Linked DNA regions of Homo sapiens: all the other regions are linked to region 5. Evidence: promoter capture Hi-C in 16 types of primary human blood cells and fetal thymus (Javierre and others, 2016). All regions are on one chromosome and are shown on one strand. Each heading gives the region's core, a stretch centred on a gene start or on the middle of the fragment in contact. The rest is flanking DNA. Distances are from core to core; before and after follow the strand shown.

The links. Contacts are between HindIII fragments. The CHiCAGO score rates a contact against its expected background, and 5 or more counts as called.
Region 1: a contact is called between a fragment that was not itself captured here and the fragment with the promoter of HS2ST1 in region 5, in 2 of 17 cell types (non-activated CD4 T cells and total CD4 T cells). The highest score is 10.5, in non-activated CD4 T cells.
Region 2: a contact is called between a fragment that was not itself captured here and the fragment with the promoter of HS2ST1 in region 5, in 1 of 17 cell types (total CD4 T cells). The highest score is 6.3, in total CD4 T cells.
Region 3: a contact is called between the fragment with the promoter of MTF2 here and the fragment with the promoter of HS2ST1 in region 5, in 1 of 17 cell types (non-activated CD4 T cells). The highest score is 6.4, in non-activated CD4 T cells.
Region 4: a contact is called between a fragment that was not itself captured here and the fragment with the promoter of HS2ST1 in region 5, in 2 of 17 cell types (non-activated CD4 T cells and naive CD8 T cells). The highest score is 10.7, in non-activated CD4 T cells.
Region 6: a contact is called between the fragment with the promoter of PTBP2 here and the fragment with the promoter of HS2ST1 in region 5, in 3 of 17 cell types (naive CD4 T cells, total CD4 T cells and fetal thymus). The highest score is 8.5, in naive CD4 T cells.
Region 7: a fragment that was not itself captured here is called in contact with the fragment with the promoter of HS2ST1 in region 5 in 3 of 17 cell types (total CD8 T cells, naive CD8 T cells and total CD4 T cells); the score reaches 7.0 in total CD8 T cells.

Annotation. Positions count from the first base shown.
Region 1 is chr1:77,760,363-77,763,740 of GRCh38, reverse strand. No RefSeq gene overlaps it. Among named protein-coding and RNA genes, the nearest start is that of USP33, 2.2 kb to the right of the region's middle. The HindIII fragment of the contact is 2,006 bases long and covers 1,126-3,131 here.
Region 2 is chr1:93,184,694-93,187,784 of GRCh38, reverse strand. CCDC18 (coiled-coil domain containing 18) reads right to left here. Exons shown (of 29, transcript NM_001378204.1): 4 at 1,282-1,440. Among named protein-coding and RNA genes, the nearest start is that of CCDC18, 5.5 kb to the right of the region's middle. The HindIII fragment of the contact is 7,524 bases long and covers 1-3,091 here.
Region 3 is chr1:93,077,893-93,081,130 of GRCh38, reverse strand. MTF2 (metal response element binding transcription factor 2) reads right to left here and starts at 1,848. Exons shown (of 15, transcript NM_007358.4): 1 at 1,600-1,848. The coding sequence starts at 1,604. RefSeq lists enhancers at 1,805-2,099, 2,036-2,285. The HindIII fragment of the contact is 3,598 bases long and covers 1,031-3,238 here.
Region 4 is chr1:95,236,438-95,239,838 of GRCh38, reverse strand. The region is part of intron 7 of TLCD4-RWDD3 (TLCD4-RWDD3 readthrough); the gene reads right to left. All of the region lies in intron 1 of RWDD3 (RWD domain containing 3), which reads right to left. Among named protein-coding and RNA genes, the nearest start is that of RWDD3, 3.9 kb to the right of the region's middle. The HindIII fragment of the contact is 1,601 bases long and covers 668-2,268 here.
Region 5 is chr1:86,912,598-86,915,884 of GRCh38, reverse strand. It overlaps HS2ST1 (heparan sulfate 2-O-sulfotransferase 1), which reads right to left and starts at 1,250. Exons shown (of 7, transcript NM_012262.4): 1 at 725-1,250. The coding sequence starts at 848. It overlaps SELENOF (selenoprotein F), which reads left to right and starts at 1,759. Exons shown (of 5, transcript NM_004261.5): 1 at 1,759-1,857. The coding sequence starts at 1,774. RefSeq lists enhancers at 1,510-1,629, 1,680-1,839, 1,233-1,847, 1,950-1,999, 1,848-2,462. The HindIII fragment of the contact is 1,083 bases long and covers 549-1,631 here.
Region 6 is chr1:96,719,798-96,723,220 of GRCh38, reverse strand. PTBP2 (polypyrimidine tract binding protein 2) reads right to left here and starts at 1,437. Exons shown (of 14, transcript NM_021190.4): 1 at 1,349-1,437. The coding sequence starts at 1,356. RefSeq lists silencers at 962-1,241, 1,472-1,671. The HindIII fragment of the contact is 2,234 bases long and covers 1,376-3,423 here.
Region 7 is chr1:94,421,896-94,425,043 of GRCh38, reverse strand. The region is part of intron 1 of ABCD3 (ATP binding cassette subfamily D member 3); the gene reads right to left. Among named protein-coding and RNA genes, the nearest start is that of ABCD3, 5.1 kb to the right of the region's middle. The HindIII fragment of the contact is 5,695 bases long and covers 1-3,148 here.

The sequences.
Region 1 (3,378 bases), core at 879-3,378, 9.2 Mb after region 5:
AATATATTTTTCTTTTCTTTCTTTCTTTTTTTTTTGTTCTTGTTTTTGTTTTTTGAGAGACAGGGTCTCACTCCTATTGCCCAGGCTGGAGAGGGGTGGCACAGTCATGGCTCATGACAGTCTTAATTTCCTGGGCTCAAGTGATTCTCTCACCTCACCCTCCATAGTAGCTGGGACTACAGGCATGATCCACCATGCCCGGCTAATTGTTGCAATTTTTTGTAGAGACAGGGTTTCGCCATGTTGCCCAGGCTGGTCTTGAACTCTGGTCTCAAGCAGCCGCAGCTTTCCAAAGTGTTGGGATTACAGGCATGAGCTACTGCGCCCTGCCCAGAAACATATTTTATTTTACTTTGAGACAGAGTTTTGCTCTTGTTGCCCAGGCTGGAATGCAGTGGTGCCATCTCAGCTCACTGCAACCTCCGCCGCCCGGGTTCAAGCGATTCTCCTGCCTCAGCCTCCCGAGTAGCTGGGATTATAGGTACCTGCACCACACCCAGCTAATTTTTGTATTTTTGATAGAGATGGAGTTTCATCATGTTGGCCAGGCTGGTCTCGAACTCCTGATCTCAGGTGATCCGCCCAACTCGGCCTTCCAAAGTGCTGGGATTACAGACGTGAGCCACTGGGCCCGGCCCAAAGACATATTTTAAAGCCCCAGCTTAAATCAGAGTTTCTCAATAGTGGCATTAATGATGTCTGGGACTCTCTTGTAATATCAATGCAAAGGAATGTTACTAATTCTTTCTCCCACCAATCCTCTTCAGAAATATTGCCAACTATCCACTCAGGGGACAAAACCACCCCCAGTTGAGTGCCAACAAGTTTTTGAGTCCTTCAATGCTAGGCTCTGGGAATATTGTGAATAAGATAAATACTCACTGCTCCCATTGAGGAGTTCAGGAGAGACAGGCAAAAAATTAAGTATACCAAAAAATTTAAGATAATTACAAATTATAATACATTCTCTAAAGGAAGCAAGCAGGATGCTGAAACCGGAAATAATGGGGTAAAGAGTTCTGTATTAAACAGAGAATATCTAGGTAGGAGTTAGCCAGGTGAAGGAAGGATAGAGGTTGGGAGTATCTGTAAAATTGTCTCTAAGGAAACAGCATTTACAAAGCTTTATTTAGTCTCAGGTACATAAGCACCAAAATGTATATTTTCTACGTTGCTATTTTTTACTTGCCATTACTCAGTTACAAAAATGAGAAGGTATTTGTTTTTGATAGGACCATTCAATTGTCTTCCTCCCTCCCTGTTTGTATCTCTCCTTCTTTTCTTCTTTTTCTTCCTACTCTTCATTTCTTCTTTTTTCTCCCTTTCATTAGAAGAGACTTCTTTTCTTCTTTTTCTTCCTACTCTTCATTTCTTCTTTTTTCTCCCTTTCATTAGAAGAGACTTCAGTACCTGGCCTGATGCACAACTCTAAGTCATACTATTTACATTATATTCTCCATGAACGGCACCTCTAGAATTCTGTTCCAGAATCAGTATGACTCAGCTGGGTGTCCACACACCCTCTAGAATTCTACTCCAGAATCAGTGACTCAGCTGGGTGTCCACACTTTGGAATGTATAATCTATTCTCTCAAGGGGAAGTTGATTGATTTATTTCCTAATGATAGTGTTCTTCCTTATAAGCCATTATAAGCCATCAGGAGATATTGTTTGAAGAAAAGTAAAAGATAAGCAATCTGGACTGTGGGATGAAAGGATAAACACCCAAGGGTGGGAGGCAGGAATTCACGGAAGTTAAAAGTGGGAGAGGTATTACATTATATTCTATCAGAGTGAGTTTGTTTTGTGAGAACTTGTCCACTGCAAGGACTTCACTTGGTGTCCACCTGAGAAGTACTTGCCTACTATTATCTACGCACTAGTCTCAAACTCCCGATCTCAGGTGATCTGCCCTGCTGGGCCTCCCAAAGTGCTGGGATTACAGGCATGAGCCACCGCACCTGGTGATCTTGAACAGCCTTGTCAGTTGTCTTCCTTGCATTGACACTGCCCTAGAACTCCTCCAGGACAGGTAAGCCCAGAGAGAACCTTGGTTACTAAGCAGGATGGTGGTGGGACTTGGAGGCTGAATTGAATTTGCTAGGACACTGTAAGAACAGAATACCCCTGATACATTTTCAATAGAAGAATTTCTGGGGAAGTGACTTTTGTCTATTTTTCTATTTGGTCGCCTGTTTTTTTAAAAATTGATTTCTGGAAATACATATGGAGTTGAGCCCCTTTTCAATTATATGTATTTCAAATAAATTCTATTTGCTGGCCTAACTTTTCTTCTCTCTCTGTCTCTCTTCTTTTTTTTTCTTCTGTAGATCTCCTCTGTGGACAGCTTTTTTTTTTTTTTTTTTTTTTTTTGAGACAGGGTCCTCCTCTGTTGCCCAGGCTGGAGTTCAGTGGCTCTATCTTGGCTCACTGCAACCTCTGCCTCCTGGGTTCAAGTAATTCTCCTGCCTCAGCCTCCTGAGTGGCTGGGATTACAGGCACGCGCCACCACACCTGGCTAATTTTTGTATTTTTCGTAGAGATGGGGGTTTCACCATGTTGGTCAGGCTGGTCTTGAACTCCTGACCTCAGGTAATCCACCCGCCTTGGCCTCCCAAAATGCTGGGATTACAGGTGTGAGGCTCTGTGCCCGGCTGGAGACAACTTTTCATCTCCTAACGGCATCTTTTTTTTTTTTTCCCAGAGAATATCTCACTTTGTCACCCAGGCTGAAGTGCAGTGGCACAATCATGGCTCACTGCAACCTCAAACTCCTGGTCTCAAGTGATCCTCCACTCTTAGCCTCTTGAGTAGCTGGGACTACAGGTGCCTGTCACCATGCCTGGCGAATTTTTGTATTTTTAGTAGAAATGGGGTTTCGCCATGTTGCCCAGGCTAGTCTCGAACTCAAGTGATTCACCCGCCTCGGCCTCCCAAAGTGCTGGGATTACAGGCATGAACCATGGCGCCTGCCTGTGAAACTTCTATTCTGTGAAATTTCTATTCTCCTCAGTGAACCGAGGATAGGCAATCATTTGTGGTGCAAATTGAGGCCTGAGTGTCAATCCCTACCTAGAATTTTGTATCATGGTTAATTTATTTCATTTTTACCATAAAAATAAGTAGAAGCTTTTATATTTTCTACCTATTCCAATGGAGACTGAGCATCTTGCATGATACTTTGGTACATGCTCCCATTTTGGAGACCAAAAAGTCAGATGTCATGAGACAGATTGAAACTGGCAATTTTAACAATTTTTTATTAATATAACCTTTTTTATTCATAGATTTGAACCTCAATCGAGTGCATTTTAACAGTTACATAATTAGAAGGCAGGACTCCTTCCATGCTCCAGGCATTAAGCAGATACTAAGGTT
Region 2 (3,091 bases), core at 98-2,597, 6.3 Mb before region 5:
TATTTCCCTAAAATTTGGTCATTCTGCCTCTGTAAGTCTACCCTAGAAATAATCTCAAACACCAAAGAAGTTTTATGTTCATTGCTGCATTTTGTTTTTCCTGTGCTGAAATAATCCCTAATAGCATTTTGTTTTGTTTGAAAAAACAGAAAAGAAAAATAAAGTCTTCCCATAACTCCTCTATTTAAAACTACATATAATGTATGTATACAATGTTTATAAAAGTAAATAGTGAAAGCCTCACTCCAACCTTCCAGTCTCTCTCGAAATTATCAACAGTGTGAAGCATAGTTTCTAACCTTAATATATCACATGTATATATATTTACATACAAACACACACACACAGACACATGCACACTTCTTATAAAGAGGAAAACTAAGAGTATTATACATGTGTGTACTGCTCTGTAATGTTTTTCTGCCACTAAATATATTAGGTAATTGTTTTTGAGTGCTGACTACACATAGACACTGTTTTAAGTGACTACATATATTATATCATTTAAACCTTATAATGCTCCATACAAGTCAAACAACTTTGCATCTTAGTACTAGTATATTTGCCTCATTTTTTTAAAAAAAGGTTTTGTTGCAATCTATCTTATGGGTATACCATAATTTACTATGTCTCCATTACTGGACATTTTGGTTTCTTCTAATTTTTTGTGTAATACCAATCATTTAGTAAAAAAATAGGAAACCACTGAAATACAGGAATTATTAACTAAATTATGATATAATCACATGAAATATAATGCTACCATAAAAAATGTTCAATGGAAAAGCTATGTAAATGCATCAGAAAATGCACAGACTATATATAAAGTAAAAAACAGAAAACACCAAAACTATTTAAAACAGTCTGGATTCAACTACGTATTAAACTGGTAAAGTGGTTTCTAGGTGGAAACTCTGGGTGATCTTTCTTCCTCTTTTTGCTACTTTTAAAATTTTCAACAATGACAATGTGTTATTTTAAAAGGGAAGATAAGTAAGTTATACTTCCTTTGTATAAAAAATAAAACCACACAAATTGGTAATCTTAACACCTTAAGAAGCTGACTTATCTAAATGCAAAAACTGTAAAGTTCCCTTCAATCATTTTCAGATATAATTCATACAATATTGATTTTACAACATGTTGATACTATAGTATTATAATGAAAATTACTTCCCATAACACATTAAGGCAATGTGGCAATACAAGGAATATTTTTCCAATTATAAATCTTAAAATAACAACTATTTTCTGTTGGCAAACTTATTTCAAGATACATACTTTTGCTCTTGACTGTGTTAATTCAAAGTGAATAGATTCAAATTTAGTCATTAAGGAATGATTCTGTGTGACCAAACAAGCATTCTGTTGCCTAAGTTTATTTAGTTTCTCTCGAAGGCTTTTAATCTCCTGATCCACAGGGGCAGAAGATGAAAACATCTGAAAGAATGAAAAAGAACAAATATATTTTCAATTATTTCAATTAAGGGTTACATGTAATTAATGGAAAATTATGAGCAATTATTAACAAAATGACGAAGCAGCTCAGAAAATGAGTTAAAATACTTAGTGAGTATTGACAAGGATATGTGGAACAATCAATACTCTCTCTTCCACTGCTGGTGGAAGTACATACAAGTATAACCTGGAAAACAGTGGTGCACTTTGGGAAACTGGCTGGTATTATCCAGCAAAGTTGAATATGCTAAGAACCAATAATATCATCCCTAGACATAAACCTGATAAAAACTTTTGTACTTTTTCACGTGCAGATATAAAACTATTCATAGCTACATTGTCCAGAGATAGTAAATAGGAAGAACCCAAATGTCCACCACCAACAAAATGGATAATAGGTAAAATATTATTTCATCTGTATAAATATTTTTATTATATTCTTTTTATATATATTTTACAATACATTTAATTTTCATGAGGATTGTGATTTTCAAAACATTTCTTTTAATTAACTTTATTTTGAGTGATTTATTTATGCAATTCAAAACTTGAAACTATATAAAAGAAAAAGTATACACAGAAGTCTCTTCCCATCTTTAATAGGTGGGTAACCACTTTTATAAGTTTCTTGTTTAGTCTTCTGGTAATTCCACATGCATACATAAGCAATATAAATTACCCACTTCCCTCCTCTCCTTATGCAAAAACTAGCACATTAAATATAACATTCTGCACCTTGCATTTTTTTTTTACTTGAACAATATACACTGGCAATCTCTCCATAATAAATACATTGACAAACTCCTTTTTTCTTCTCAACTGCATAGTTTCCATTGTATGAATAAACCATTAGTTTATTCAACTAACCCCCTATTACTGGATACTTGAACTATTTCTAATCTTTTGATATGATAAACAATGCCTAATTTCATATCCTGCAGGGTGTCTACAGTATCGTTTTTCCAGAAGTGGGAGTTCCAAGTCAAGGTAAATGTATTTGTAATTTTGGTAAATATTGCCAAATGCATCTCAGTTGGGGTTATATCACTGTGCATTCCCACTAGGCAATGTACCCGTACCCAATATCACCAATAAAATAACACCTCAAACATTTGAATGTTTAATAATTCTATAGGTAAGAACTAGGTAAGGTACTTAGGTATAGTTTCACTTTGAATTTATCTTATTATGAGTGAAATTGGACACCTTTTCATTAGTTTGGATATCACTTTTATTTCTTTTTCCGTTCATGTCTTTTGCCCATTGGGTTACTGATATTTTTGTTCTCAATTTCTAGGAGATCTTTACACACTAGATTAGCCTTTTGTCTTTGATCGGCATTATCATTATTGTTTTCCCAATTAAGGCACATATACAATAAGAATGATCAGCAATTTGAATGAGGATAGAGATCAAATTTCTTAGAATTACATACCATGTAAACATGGAATTTGAATTTGTTTCTAAAAAGTAGATTCAGACAGCTTCATTAAGCAGATTCGTTACAAAAAGGAAAGCTCTTAATGGTTGGCTTTCCGAAGTGGAAAGAGCAAATACATATCCAAAAAGATTATGTGCAACCATATCTGTGTATATACATGTAGGGAGTCGGGGGAACAAAGAATAGGAAGAG
Region 3 (3,238 bases), core at 599-3,098, 6.2 Mb before region 5:
CCTGATAGTTACACATTTCCGTTAATACCCACTAACATTATAAATGTAGTATCAGGAAGCAGGTGTGTTCTTAATTCAAATATTTAGAACATTTTTAGCACTTTAAAAAACTGCAGGTGAACTAATTTTAAAATGTGAATTCAAATACATTTTTATATTTAGGAATCTGAAAAAACAAGTCATTTTGTATTCCCTCTCAAGTTATAACTAAACTATAGGGCACTTAAAGCCATCAGTCAAAACAACTCCCTTTAAAGCATTTTCAAATCTTAAAAAGGTTATTGTGAATTTAATTACATTTTATCCACATTAACTACTTCTACATACAACTATCTTTGAAATTTACTGACAAAAAAAAAAAAAAAAGGAATTCCCAAGAGAGAATGAAACCATGGAAATTGAAACCAGCTTGTAGGCTAGGTATACAGGAGGGTCACATGGAATCCATCTGAAGGAGAAAGTAACTACTATTACTACCGGAGGTTCTGAAGTCAAATTAAATCAGGTACTATTTACATATTTCTAGCTCTGTACTGACCTCACATGGTGCCTTCCTATGTATTACACACAGGCCTAGCTAGGTTTTCACATTTAAGTTAGTGTTACATGGTTTCTATCTTTAACCAAAGTTAAATGTTTTAAAGAATAGAGTAACATTCCATAAGCCTTTTCCCATTGTTCACAAACCCTTGCTGTTAGTCAGATTACCCCGATAAATCCATCTGTTCCCTCTAATTGCTTCCAAAGAAAAATTCTAGCAACCAAGGACACCAGATTGTAAAACACAGAGTTAGAGTTCTGGCACTACCGAAATATGTTAAGAAATCTTGGCAAATTGGTTAAAATTCCTTGAGCCGTAATTACCTCAGTTGTAAAAATGAATACAATACAAATCTACATCCTAGACGTAGATTATATGAGTTAGGTTTAATTAAACACAAGAAAAGCCTCATATTTTTGGTGAGCTCCAAATATAAGCTACCTAGCTTTCCCCCATCTCACTTTCCCTCCCACCGCTTCCCTTTAAGCTTTCAGGTTGTGCTTCCAACCTCCACTTCAGTGTGTTCCCCTTATCCTTACCAGCACTTACACTCGACCCCCTTTACTCCAATTCCATACAATTCCACCCTCCGATTCCAAGCTGCTACTTCCCTTTGCGCACTGCTAAGGTCCCAGGCAGCCCTCCACTCTGCTCCCCACATTTCCCTCAGCCCCCATTTCCCAACGGCTCCTCCTCTCGGCTCCCCACCCCCTCGTCACCAGGTTCATCCTGCCCCTCCAACCGTCTCCCGCCCCCAGGTTCCTTCCTGCCCTCCAAACACAGCTTCCCCGTCTCAACGTTTCATCTTGTTCCTCCAACAGACTCCCCCAACGACCTCCTCGCTCCTTTAGTCCCTATTTTCTCCCAACACTCAACTGACTACTCCTCTTCATCCATTCTTTTCAATATACACATAAATGCAAAGGCACCCACATACAGGAGCCCCCACCCCCACCTTGGTCCTCCATCTTTCCCTTTTATACTTGCTTCCTTTCTTCCTCCTTCCCCCAACCCCCATCTCCTCCGGAAGAGTCGGTTCCCAGGCCAAGGTCTCTCACCTCATTCGGTCACTTCAGTGGTGCCAACCGCTTCATACAGGAAAAAACAACCAATCCGTCCCCGTGGGCGCTTCCCCTGCGAGTCCGAGCACTTACTGGGCACCCGCCCCACCGGGTACCCGGCACATATGCACGCACAAACCGAGGTCCTTGGAGACAAGGGTTGGGGGTAGAATGAGCGTTCTTACACCGGCCTCAAACACAGCCCACTTCAATACAGCCCCTCGCCATTTTGGTTTCCCGCGGACTGCCGGTGCATTCTGGGAGCGCGGAGCGACTCCGGTGCCGAATGGCAGCTCTCCAAAGCCGCGGGGGGGCAGGGACTGCGCGGCGAGCGCGGAGGAACACCGCGCCCTGCGTCCCCGACTGGGGCTGAACAAAGAAGGACTCTTTAACGTTGCAGTGAGGCTCAGTCCTTCCGCCGCCGGGGCTAACACAATAGTGAAAGCTGCGCTCCTGATCGTCGGCAGGCTGGCACTGTTATACAGGAAAAGGGTCGTGTGCGACCTTCGGTGTGCGTGGTCGTAACGGTGCTCTGTGCATCTTGCTGGGCCGATTTCTTTTCCCTGGAGAAAACCTTAACTGAAGCACGTTTCCTCTACTTTCATCCTAAGGCCTGCTGTTAGAATTTCCTTCAGAGGGGAGAAGACCCAGGATGTCGAGATTAAATTTTATTCAGCGATTCACTGTCCAGTCCCAAACTCCTTATCAGGAGCTGCTTTTATGAAAGACTTTCAGACGATTTTTTTCCTAACGATGAAAGGTTGTTTTCTGTTTACCCGCTTTGCAGTCCTTCCTAGTTGTAATGAAATCTGAGAATAGTCCCCTGCAAAATGGTTTAAGAAAACAGAATTGTTTATTAGTGCAGACCCTTAGCCTGCCCAGATTCTGCTGCCTACAGGGGTCCCAACTGACAAGCTGTGAGATTGTATGCTTGTCTCTTTAACTTACACCTAGATACAACCCAGCTCCTCTTAGTAGCCACGTGTGGAATCTTTATTTATAATTTCGTCAAAATATTTTTAAAGCCATTTTATATTTTTGTCCCATATTATGCCACAGGGATAGTGAACACCATATTTTTTCTGTCTCTGAAAAAGTACCTTTTGTGGTCTAAGCTCATTTGGCTCATACTTCAAAAGGGGTTCCCTCAGCCTGTGATCTCAGAATTTGGCAAATAAGCATATTCGTTTTATCCAATACCATTCAATACTTTAAATATTGTGGTCATACCCTTCCACTCCTCTGCTTCTCCTGAATAATAGTCCTAATCTTTTAAGTCTGTCTTCTTACTGTACCCTCACTGTATCTACTTACCTACTACCTTTCAGGTTTCACTTTATTTCAATTCTCATCATCGTCTCTCATAAATTCGTCTTAAGTGACCTTCATACGTTGGCTGAGGAAAATTTTGACTTAAAAAAAGCAGATGCAGCCGGGCGCGGTGGCTCACACCTGTAATTCCAGCACTTTGGGAGGCCGAGACAGGCAGATCACCTGAGGTCGGGAATTCGAGACCAACCTGATCAACTTGGAGAAACCCCGTCTCTACTAAAAATACAAAAATTAGCCAGGTGTGGTGGCACATGCCTGTAATCCCAGCTACTCGGGAGGCTGAGACAGGAGAATCGCTTGAACC
Region 4 (3,401 bases), core at 219-2,718, 8.3 Mb before region 5:
CTACTGAGCCAGCCATGTCAGTCCTTACCAATTTTCATTTTTCTCTGTGTTATTTTCTGGTCCTAGTCAGCAAACAGAATAGCAATGGGTGAAACTCCTGACTTTCACCTTAGAAAACTGTGACCGTCATACTAGTTATATGTTCGGAAGAAAACTGCCTTAGTTCTTTTAAGAATTGGAAAGGATTAGCATTCTTCCTAATTGGTCTTGGTAAATCCCCCTGCCCACCCACACATACACTGTAGCTGCAAAATAAGATTATACAAAATGATACTGTCATCTCTACAAGAAACTGAAAAGCCCAATAACATACTCCATTCTTCTGGTATTTAATGTGGCAATAAAATTACATACTTTTAAAAACTCATTTTCTCCCAAAAACTCTAGAAGTATGTATTGTACTCTTCCATATCTCATCTGCTTGACATTGTACAAGCAATTAAACTGGCTCCTTTCTGCCTCAGAATTTTTCATATGACACATGCACTGTAAGTCTGATTTTTTGTTTTCTTTTTTTGCCATAATAAAAAAGAAAACAAAGTTGCCCCTATCTGCTTTAAGGTTATTAACAGCTTAGAAACAGTGATTAGCAGAAAAATAATTATGCTCTAAATCTAATACTAATCTCTGCCCCTCCTTAGCCCCCCAGAACCTTAGTTAATAAGCTTAATTCACAAACTGATCATTCTCAACAAACATCTATGCCCTAGAAAACTTAAGGCTTGCCCCAGAAAACTAAAATCTCCATAAGTCCAAGGGTGTTTTCATGTATTCTAAAGACCCTACCAAAAGGGTCTTGCCCTCTTGTTCAAGTTGATACAAATTGACTACTTGTTGTTTCTAACCAAATCATTCTGTCTTATAGTAAGTGTATCATTTTCATACCTAAAACACAAACTGAAACAGGTTTCAAACCTTATGCTTCCTTACAAACATCAGAAAGTAAGCTCCTAAACACATTCCAAACAGAAATTCAAACTAGAGAAACTTAAACTTTTAGAACTCCAAATTCACACTAATGCTATTTTTAAGGTTTCATTCTACTTAATAAAATACAACACACAACAGAAACTCTATAAATGCAGTCAAATAACAGAAGACATTTTTAAAAAAAGGTAAAATTTAAGAGAATGGGTTTTTCAGGATTCACTAAGAGCCCATTAAGAAATTGTTTACATACCATATACATCTGACCTTCCCTACACTTGTGTTTTTTTTCTTTGCAATTGTTATATATCCTCAAGATACAACTTTGAAGAAAACCACCAAGAAACCTTCAGCACCCTCTCATACTTGGTAAGACAAGACTGTCTCCTCTTGCTCCCAGGCAGCTCCCAGGCAAGCATACACCAGTGCTTGTTTTATGCTTCAGTTGGATTTTTACATAAGTTTCAATGTAGCTTCAGAAGAAAAAAAAAAAAACTAAAAATAAATGAAGCTAAAAGTAGCAATCTCATCGGTTTTATAGAAGTCAGCTCAATACTGACAATCAGCATAAAACCGAGCTGAGCAGATTTAGAGGGGTCAATGTGTGACAGTCATGATTCATTTTATAAGAAGGCCCAAACTAATTTGAACATTAGTGTTGCTAAAATACAAAAATTCACTCTGCAGCTTCTGTGAAAACCTATTACATGATATTGGGTTCTCCCATCTTACAACTTTTTTATCTGTAAGATTCTTTCCAGAAGCACAACTCCCACATATAACGAACATTGACTATGGCCACATAATCTGTGTCACTCAATTTCCTCATCAGGAAAATGGTGATACAATACCAATCTCACGCCTCTCATAGATCCACACATACATGCACAAACACTCCCCTTTGGGATTGTTCTGAACATAAGTTGGCTCACACTCATATCTTTTCTCTGGGTGCTCATTATCGCTCTTTCTGCACAAGTATTTCCTTGCTTTCCAAGAACTATTTTCCTGATGCAACAGCCCCATCTCTCTATTAAGGAGCATGATGCAGTGCAAAGGCCCATACACCTGGAGCCTGGTGGTTATTTAACCAGTCTGAGTATCAGTTATCTTCTCTGTGAAGTAAGACCAATAGTACCCCTCATCAAGTAAGATGCATTTCAAGTATCACGTACATGGCAGGTCACCCCATCAAATCTGGCACCTGGACTGACTACAATGCATACAGAAAAACAGAATATCCCTAATGTGGTCTATCCACAGCCCTCCCTTGTAGATGGGAGTGTAGGGACTTACTTAATTTGCACCCCTAAGAGATGGTTATGCCTCTTACTAGAAGCTTACTATAACCATTGTAAAGAGATCAAAAGGCAGATAAAATCCCCTGAAATTCTCAGCATAAAATTAGTCCAGCTAAATGGAATCCAATTATTTAGCTTCTTCAATCTTACGGCCTTAATAGTTGATCCTTGGGTTAGCAGTCTGAGTCTTGCTGGGTTATCTTGTTACCAGGAATGCAATTCCTCTGCAACATTCTCCTGATTCCAGTGGCAAAAGGGAGAACCTTATTTGGGGGAGGCCAGAAAAGAACTAGTGTTTAGAGTGTTCTGGTATCAAGTGTGTATCCTCCAACCCAAACTGACAGTGATGGTGAGTGGTAGCCAGCAGTCTGCTGCATGTTTACTGTGGTCTGTTAAAGAAGTCCTTACTTTGTAAAAAGATGTTACGAAAATCATGGGAAAAAAAAAAAAGGCCTTTACCTTACCCCCTTAATTCCCACTTGTGAACATCAAACATCCCCATTTCAATCACTGAATTATTCTACCTCTCAGCAACAAAATGTCCTAAGTTGTTACACTGAATTCTTTTATAATTCAATTACTTATTGATGCCAGAACATGGAATTAAACTAATTAGGAGGCATGGCTTGAAAGTCATGCTCAATTTAACAGCAGATAAAGGGTTCACAGTGTTCTCAAGATTAAGAAACTGTTTTCTTTCTATGCTTACATTTTTGGGTTTTCTCTGACCCTTCAGCAGTGTTTTATGCTCAGCTGTGTACTAATGACCCAGACCATTACCAGTTCTTTAAGGTGTGATGGGAAATTGCAGGTTCATTTTTCCAGGATATTCCCAACTGAGCCATAATAAAGGAATTTAGGAAAACTGATGATCTCTTCAAATAGCTGCCTCAGGCAGAAGTAATTATCAATAAAGAGAACAGTGGAGACAGAGAGGGAGATGGTGAAGAATTATCCAATCAGAAGAGGGATGACAAGAAAACACTAAAAGTGAGTAAACCCCTTCATATGGATTTTAAACAATTGTTTCAAAAGATACAAGTCAGGCTGGGCACTAAAAAGAAAGCAACTCCATTACACTAATAGGTGCATAGTGCCTGGAACATAACAGTGCCCAATGAGTGGATGTGAGTGGATGAATGCAAGAAGGAATAAATGGAAGTCAACTCCCTG
Region 5 (3,287 bases), core at 1-2,500:
GTGAAGCAACATACATAGGCATCCCTATTCTCAAGCCCCAATTCATCAGTTTAGCGCCACTAAAGAAGAATTTAAATCTCCGGACCCTCATTTCCGTACTCCGATGAAGCTTTGCACTCGCGTTCCCGCACTACCCGGCCAGCCTCCCTCAGCTGGCAATTACAAGGTCCTTTGCTGCCCGGAGCACAAGAGTGCAACTCGCTACAGTGTTCACATGTTGCTCTCCGTCATCCCAGCATCTCCTCCCATTTCTGCGCACCTATCCCTTCATGAGCCCCCAAAAGAATTCGTATCCAGATGCCCATAGCTCAAATTAGAATACCCCTCATCTGACATTGCCAGGGCTTCCTGTACGACTTCCAAGAGAACACGCGATGCTAAGCGCTTCTGTCTCCGGAGACCAGCAACACACGCTCCCCACTGAGTTCGGTCTTCTCTCTCGCTCTCTCTCCGCGGAATGCCTACTTCGGGGCTACCCTTTGGCTAGGGAAGCCCAACCTTGCAACCTCTGCCCCGTGACCTCGCGAGCCCAGCACGCCGCTCAAGCTTAATTCAACCCATTCTTGGAGCTCGTGCTCTCGCTGCCCCTTGTTCCCGGTTCTCTTTGAAACCGCTTTCAGCCCCCGAGCCAGACCCCAGGTTAGATGAACGCCCACTTGCTCCGGCGGCAGCGCCTCCTCGGCCCCTTCCACAGCACTCAGCCCGGGGCAGTTCAGTTCCTCACCTAGCTTCGAGCGGGACTCCTCCAGTTTCTGGATCTGGTTTTCCAAGAAGAGCATCGCCACCGCGAAGGCCACCACCGCCAGCAGCTGCAACTTGGGCGGCATCATAATCCTGAGGAGCCCCATGAAACCCGCTGCTCGGGATCAAGACATACCGCGGGGGGCGGGGAGCGGGACCCCGGAGGCGAGAGAGACGCCGGGAGGAGCCCGCCGAGCCGGGAGCGAGGCAAAGAGAGAGCGACAGCGAGAGAACCACCGCAGCGACCCCCCTTCTCGCCTCTCCAGTCCCCCTCCCCCAGGCGCTATCACCAACGCCGCTGGTGTCCGCTTCTCCTCAGCCGACTAAACGGCCGCCCCCTCCAAAAGCCCGCGCAGCAAACAGCGCGAAGCGGCTGCCGGGCTCTCGCCTCCCTCTACTGCCTCAGTCCCCGACCCCCGCGCCCGCCTGCTTGCCCGCCTCCCTCTCTTCCTTCCTTCCCTCCCTCCTTTGCTCGCGGCCGCGCGCCCCTCCACCGGCGCTGCGGCTGCGCCGCCCTCATCCCCGCCCCCGCCCATCCCCCTCCGCCACCACGCGCACGCATCCGCGTACGCTGCTCGGCAACCAGAAGCCCCGCCCCTCCCCCCGTTCGGGTCCGCTTATTGGACGGAAGAGCCCCTGCGCTTCGCTCTTGGTTCGGTTTACGGTTGGTTTCCTCTGCCACAGAGCTCAATCAAGACGACATTCAATTGGGTAAACTTGGAGAAGAAGGCGGGGCTAAAACTGGCGAAGGCGTGGCTTCTTGGCTGCTTGACGAAGTGTCGTGAATAAAAGAAAGGAGACCGCAGAAGTAAAGAAGTGGGGAGTTTAGGCAAGTGCCTGATTTGGGTAATCGAAAGCACCCAGTGATTGTATTTGATGACTTTTAAGCTTTCATATGCCGTTATTTAATACCTGTCACTTCCAAATGAGAGATGTAAGGGCAACGGCCGTTAGCGTTCTGTTTTGGATCAGGCTCTGGAGTGGACGCCCCTAGCTTAGGGGTCCTTCTAGGCAGCCAGAAACCTGCGGAAAATGGTAGCGATGGCGGCTGGGCCGAGTGGGTGTCTGGTGCCGGCGTTTGGGCTACGGTTGTTGTTGGCGACTGTGCTTCAAGCGGTGAGTGTAGATCACCTTCGCAGCTGCCACAGGGAGAGTAGGAGTGATTGCAGCTGAGAAAGACGCAACATTCGGTCCTGGTTGAAAAGGGTGGGGAGGACTGCGCTTCCTTAATGACTGCTGCGGCCAGAATGCAACGTGGCTTAATTTCTCGGTTGATCCTTCTCCTTCCCCGCCTTGGGTTTCTAGCAGCAGTTTTCTCTTGATTTCAGATTGTCTTGGGTACGTAGCTTCTCTTATACGGCTCTTGCTAAAAACAATCTGTAAACCACACCAGGTGGGAGGGGGGAATAATAAAGCTTGGCAAGAAGTGGAGGTTGTTTTTAAATGGACAGAAATGCAAGAGACTCATGACGAGACTTCCAACTCTTAGAGGCAAGTCTTCAAGTCGTTGGTCCAGGCGAACAGTTTGTGTTTACCTCTCTCGCGCGCGTGCTCTCTCATTTTCACTACTTCTGTTAGTCTCTTAACTTCCGTTCTCCTCTGCTATTCATATACGGCTGGCTGCGCTTGAGTGCGATTTGTGCTTTTAAACAATGTTGTTGGAGTAAAAGGAGTTATCTATACCAAAGTATAATTCATTTTTGAAGTTAGTTTTTTAAATGATGTTCGTTGTCTTCTTTAAGGCAGCGTTTTTTATTTCATTTTTCTCTATTGGCAGAATAGATGGGTGACCTTTGAATGGGAAAAGTGTACTTTTAACTTATTTCTTCTCATATCCATGTTCTGCTGTGTGAATAGTAAAATTTTAGGCACAGTGCTGAAAGCTTTTACGTTTTTTTATCCTAGCTTAATTCTTCGGGTAGTCTCTAATAAGGAGACCTGGTTTAATTTACTTATCCAAGGTTGAGGGTGTTAAGGGACTACACCGGAGTCCTCTATGAACACCTGTACTTACCTTTCTCAAAGAGCTTGAAAGCATCCTGGCTGTTTGCTTTGGCTACTTTAACCAAAAGGTAGATTCTTAACTTCTGTAATTAACATTCCAATTATCTTGTTATTCAGGCATTTGGTGCTAGGAATTACTGGATCACCTCTCCCTAAACTTTCTACTGTTTAAGGGTTTTTGCACATCTTTAGGTCATTCGAGATAACATTTCAGGTTGTCTTTTTTTGATCTCCCTCTGTCTTTGACTGTCAGTTGTCTATAGCTGTGTAACCGCCCTAAAACCTAGTAGCTTAAAACAGCAATGATTTCTCATAATTCTGGGTCAGTGGAGTAGAACTACTCCACCTATGTTGGTTTTCCCCTGGCCTCATTTATGCTTTTTGTTGACCTAGTAGGTCAGCTAAACCGAAAGGTTCCAGGATTACCACTGTTTATAGTTGGTGCTGTCAGCTCGAGGACTTGGTTCTGTTCCGTGTGACCTCTCATCCTCCAGTCGGCTAGACCAACTTCTTTTCATGGCACTCTCAGGGCAGCACTCCAA
Region 6 (3,423 bases), core at 188-2,687, 9.8 Mb before region 5:
AGGAATCAGGAAACATGAATTCTAGTGCAAGTTTTGACATCAATTTCCGTGTTGATCTGGGGGGAATACTGAACTTCTCTGGATTTGTTTCATCTGGAAAATAATCTTTAGGTAACATCTAGGATGATTTGAATTCTGTGAGACTGTGTTAACTTTTATAAAATCTTGTTTTTAGTACCTTTTAAAACACACCAAACTCTAGGCGCTTAACCAAATTGTTGATTCTTCAAATACTCACTGATTTTAATAAATGTACTTGTTAAATGATACTATGTTTACACTCCCAAAAGAGCTGCATACTGCTGTATTTTTGACCTTAAGCGTGCCCCCTTTCTAACATTGAGTTAAATTACTGAGTCTTTTCAGGTGTGAAGCATATGAGCGAGACATCGGTCCCTACCATTTCACAGTCTTGCCTCTCACCTCACTCAGCATTCCGTCTTGACTCAGGTTCGCAAAGATGCAGCATGGTTCTGGGTTTTTATAGTCGTTTTTCCAGAAACTGACCAAAGTAGCTAAAGAGATAGCCCTTTGTTGACTATCTGCTCTTGTTTCTGCCATTGCTGTTGGCCTTTGCCCATGTGACTGATGTCGGCTTCAAACACTTCGTTTTTTAGATGATTTAATTTCTGGGCCCTTTTGCCAAGCCTTGAATGTTTTCAGTCCCCACAAAAAGGCATTTTTTCCTCCCTCCCGCCCCCACTACCAGACTCAAATGAAAACAAAGGAGTATGACATCTGCCCTCCCCCTTCCTCCCGCCGCCGCACGCCCTCCCCCCTTCCCCAGCGGCTCCCACTAGGCTTTCCCCGGAGCTCCCGCCACCGGCATCTCTCCCGACCACGGAGGGCCGGGCGAGGCCGGAGAGGTTGCTCATGGCTGGGGTCCACATGGGGTGCCTCTCTCCTCTTCCCCTAGAGGCTCCCCCAATCCAAAGGCCTGTCTCTGCCCATCCCACTCGCTCTCACAGGCACCGCTAACCCAAGGGTCGGGTCCCAAGGTACGGATCGAAATGGCTCCTAGAGGGGGCAGGGACAGACCGGGGAGACGTTATGGGGTTCCCACCCCATCCCCCGCCGCCAAGCCGGTGCCCGCTCCCACTCCGGGATCCTCACCCCCGCCATCGCCCCTATGCCTCCCCAGCCTCCAAGCCCGCTTTCTTCTCATTTTCTCGACCAAAGCCCGCCGGGGGAAGCAAAGGGAGGGGTGTGTGCGATGGGGCGGGGGTTGGGTAACGGCAGCCCAGCCCTGGGAGGGGCCGCGGGAGGGTTTCTCCCCGGCCCGGGACCGGGCCGAAGGACGGTCCAACTCCTCTCTCACACACACCTTCTCGCCGGCCCGATTACATACCCGTCCATTGCCGAACCGGACAAAGCTTCGCTCACAAGAACCGAGCCACGCAGCCAGCGAGCCACACAAGCGGCGAGAAAATGGCGGCTGGGGCCCGACGGAAATTGCCGAAGGTGCCGAGGCGCACGGGCCACCGCGCGGCAGCGGCGGCGGCGGAAAGAGCCGAGCGCGCCGGCGCCCGGCAGCGGGAGGCGAGCGGCAGGGCGCTGGGACTAGGGGGAGTGGGCGCCGCAGCCGACGCCTCCTCCGCGCCTTCGCGCGCCTTTCTCCCTCCGCCCTCCGCCTGCCGTCCTCTGGAACCTGGCGTTCTGCTGCAGACCGCGGCGACCTGGTTTCCCCTCCTTGTGGGGGCGTGGGTGGGACACCTCCCAACAGCTCTCCACACTCTCTCTGCCCTGACTGCAGGACGCCCCCAGGCAGCCTCCACTTTTCACTCCAAGCCAAGTACCAGCTTGGCTACCGTCAACCTATGCGGGCCAAGGAAAAAACATTGGATAGCTTTTCTCCTAAGCCATCTTTTATTTGCAGACCGGCTCCAGCCTCTAAAACAAAAATCTTTACCCCACTGAACGAGACCACTTGGTAACAACAGTACTTTCTCAAGCAAGTAGAACTCCTCAGACTGAAATACAGGCTTTTGCTTCAAGACCTGTAGTACCAAGCCAAGTGGAGGAAAATGTGATTCTCACTTCAGTTGGTGATTAGTGTGCGCCTGTAGAAAATATTCACAATACGCTAGGTGGAAATAGACACAAATGGAGCCATGTGTTAAAATGCTACAATAGTTGGAGTTTAACATTTGGAGGCATGAAAGGGAAAGTGGAGATGGGAGTGGGAACAACTGAGTCTTCAGATTGGTTAGAGAAAGTAGAAGCATTAAAATGGGCTATGCAAATTGACTCCCTTTGCTATATCTTACGGTCTCAATTTTTACTTGATACTATAGTGGACATTTTACTTCAACGTGTTTTTATCAGAGGCTCAACAAAATTGGGAAAGGCACCCGCTTGAAAATTTGCTCAGTGAGTAGCGACTTTGCCAGTACCCATCCTTCTCCTGCACCCTTCACCTCCACCCCCAACACACACAAGGACAAATGCACTTCTAATTCTGAAAAATGACAAATACTCCCTGTGTCCCTCCAGTTACTCTCAATACTCACTCTGGGTTTTTCTGTGTCTCCTTCAGGCAAAGCTCTTATCCTTTGCTAATTGGAATTTCATATACTAAATGATATTGTGTATAATTTTTAGAATTTTTTTTTTTGAGACCCAGTCTCGCTCTTGTTGCCCAGGCTGAAGTGCAATGGCGCAATCTCGGCTCACTGCAACCTCGGCCTCCCTGGTTCAAGCGATTCTCCTGCCTCAGCCTCCCGAGTAGCTGGGATTACAGGCACGCGCCACCACGCCCAGCTAACTTTGTATTTTTAGTAGAGACAGGGTTTCTCCATGTTGGTCAGGTTGGTCTCGAACTCCTGACCTCAGGTGATCTGCCCTCCTCAGCCTCCCAAAGTGTTGGGATTACAGGCGTGAGCCACCGTGCCCGGCCATAAATAATATTACTTTTAAATTGGATAGACCCTTAAAGAGCATCTTGTCCAAACACTTTGCTATAGAACTCTTCAAAGCACCCAAATTTTTACAAATTCTTGATTTGCCTATGGGATTGTCAATCGTTAAAAAAAAAAAAAAAAAAGGCCGGGCACGGTGGCTCACGCCTGTAATCCCAGCATTTTGGGAGGCCGAGGCAAGCAGATCACCTGAGGTCGGGAGTTCAAGACCAGCCTGACCAACATGGAGAAACCCCGTCTCTTCTAAAAATACAAAATTAGCCGGGGTGGTGGTGCATGTCTGTAATCCCAGCTACTCGGGAGGCTGAGGCAGGAGAATCGCTTAAACCTGGGAGGCCGAGGTTGCGGTGAGTCAAGATCGCGCCATTGCACTCCAGCCTGGGCAACAAGAGCGAAACTCTGTCTCAAAAAAAAAAAAAAAAAAAAAAACCACATATCAAATTTCCTACAATAACCACTTCACCTTAAACCTTAAAATAAAGGATCTGTTATTAGTGCCACTAAT
Region 7 (3,148 bases), core at 244-2,743, 7.5 Mb before region 5:
TTGTAGCAAAAAGAATGTGTTATTTAAAACAATAGTAACCACAGCCCCCAAAAAATGAGAATCTCATTTGTTGTTGTAGAGTCAAACAAATATGAGTGTCTACTATATATTCCAGCCACAGTTCTAGCCACTGGGGCTATAACTGTGAATAAAATAGACAAAAATTCTTGCCTTTGTGGAACTTAAATGCTAGCAGTATGTATATACTGCAAACATATACAACAGACAAGATAAATATGTAAAATATATAGCATATTTTATAGTGATAAGTGCTAAGGAGAAAAGTAAAGTCTGGAAGGTAGACAGGATGCTATTTTGAGTGGCAGGGGCCAGGCACAGTGGCTCTTGCCTGTAATCCCAGCACTTTGGGAGTCTGAGGTGGGAGAATCGCTTGAGCCTAGGAGTTCGAGACCAGCCTGGGCAACATAACGTGACCTTGTCTCTACAAAAAATATTAGCCAGGTGTGGTGACGTGTGGCTGTAGTCCTAGCTACTTGGGAGGCTGAGGTAGGAGGACTGTTTGAGCCTGGGTGGCAAAGGTTGCAATGATCCAAGATGGTGCCATTACACTCCAGCATGGGTGAGAGAGTGAGACCCCGTCTCAAAATAAATAAATAAATAAAAATAAATCGAATGGCAATAGAAGGTCTCACTAAAAGGATGTCTGAAAAAAGACTGAAAGAGTGGGGAGAGTAAGCAATGTGAGTATCTGAGGAAAGAGCACTTCAGGCAGGGGAAACAGCAAGAGCAAAAGCCTTGAAATAGAATGCCTACCCAAGGATGTGAATGTGCCAGTAACTGGGACATATAATTAATTAAACAACCTGTACTCAGTTCCCCCTAGCAGACCACAGACAGCTACACAGTTCTCAGAACACTGCTCTGGGCCTGATCTGCCTCAGTTGGGTTCAGTACACAGCTACTTTGGCTGGCAAATTCTTCAATGCTTTTTTTTCCATCCAAGGTTGCTTAAGCATCTCTTTTTTATTTTGAGGATCCAAACGGGGCCATATAACATCTACTCATGGGTAACTGTAAGGGTCTCAAGCCGCTCTAGCCCCTCACATGATTCATGCTTGCACTTTGCAAAACACCCAGTGCGCCTGTGAAACTGAGAAAAGTGAAGCCAGCCCCTTCTAGAGCTTGATTTGAATGGGGCAGATTTAAGGAAGGAAAGCTGAATTTTGAAGTTTGCAGGAAAGTTGTAGAGGGGTTAGCAGTAACGTAGTGCAGGGAGTAAGAAGCTGGAGATATAAGGACACCCAATGGGTAAAGAAAGGCCCAGCAGCAGGCAACAGGGCTGAGACTCAGGACAAAAAAAAAAGTCAAGAAATTTCCAGCAGTGGGAATGTCCAAAAAACTTCTAAATAAAAGCATTTTAAGCTGTTCACTATGCTGGGATATAATCCCTACCACTCCTCCCAAATTTTCAATAAAGCCCTACTATAAATATCTGCTTTGTGATTGATTCTTTAGAGAAATCAAGGCAGACGCCAAAGAGACAGGCTCAAGAGACAAGATGTAAGTACCTTCTAAAATAGAGCAGAAAGTGCTCCAAAGGAAGCGAAGTAAGATGTCACTAAAAGAAACACAAGCTCCCTGAAATTCCTGAGAAATATTTAGGAGAGGAAACTGTGTTCCCACCATTTACAGAGGGGGGCTTTTAAAAGCAGGAAACTCACCCCATAAGCAGGTGGACTTTGGTAGACCTAGCTAGATTATAACCAGTCAAGCAATGAATAGATAAAACAATAAAGGTATTTAAATGCATGCTTCAGAAATTTTAAAAGAGGTGATCATCATTTAGATCATCTGGAGTAGTTAAATAACACTTCATGGATAGGGTGACCCTGACCTAACCCTTCAAGGATGACAAGAGTTGGAGAACAGGGATATCATAGAAAGATATTCTAGGTATGAGTAACAGCATGAATAAAGCTCCAAAGCCAAAAATGAGTGTGGCCTGTTCAAAGAACAGTGTAGAAACTGTCCTATTTGGAACAGAGAGTACCCATTGGCAGGCAATGGCATATAAGATTAGCCAGGTAAAGTAAGACCAGATTGAGGGAGGCTCTGAAATCCAAGATGAGAAATCCGAACTCTATTTGACAAGCATTGATAAGAAGCGAAAGAAACTGCTTTGTTCTGTTCTGTTTTTTAAAGATAATAAAATACTATGGCTATACAGACTGGTACCATTCCCTGCCTTCTAAAATTGGCCCACTGATTTCCCACTACCCAGGTCAGGTTATATATGCTCAGGTACACAACTATTACTTCTGCAAAAAGAATGTTTCTATTCATGTTTGTACTAGGCATCTCCAAATGCCTGTCAATTACGCTTAAAAGTTCTTCAACTATCCTATGTCATTTATCCTCTCTATAAACACTGTCTAACCCATGACAGAGCCGAACTAGGGAATTAAAGATGACTCAGTTCATGCCCTCAAGAAACTCAGGATCTGATGTAGGCAAAAGCCAAGAAAACAAACTAGTACAATACAGAATGGTAAGTGCTAGAGTAGGGGATACCTAGAGCAGTAGTCTCCAACCTTTTTGGCACCAGGGACCAGTTTTGCGGAACACGATTTTTCCACAAATTGGGGTTGAGTTGGGGGATGGTTTCAGGATGAAACTGTTTTGCCTCACATCATCAGGCATTAGATTCTCATAAGAAGTGTGCAACCTAGATCCCTCACATGTGCAGTTTACAACAGGTTCACGCTCCTATGAGAATCTAATGCCCCTGCTGATCTGACAGGAGGCGGAGCTCAAGTGGTAATGCTCGCTTGCACAGGCTGTGCAGCTGGGTCCTAACAGGCCACCAACCTGTACCAGTCCACAGCCCGGGGGTTGGGGACCCCTGGCCTACAGTATCATAAAAGCAGAGGACACTTACATCAGTTTGGAAATCAGAAAAAGACAGAAAACACCTAAGACAAAGTGTTGACTGAGTCTTGAAGAAAAAGAAGTATCAGCTGGGCAAGTTGGCTCATGCCTGTAATCCCAGCACTTATGGTTGGATGAGTGGGAAAAGTAGGGAAGGACCACACCATGAATACAGAAAGTTTGTATTTTAGAGTAGATTAATGATTTTAATGAAGGAATATTATGATCATATCTGAGCTTCTTAAAAAGAGCTCTGGTG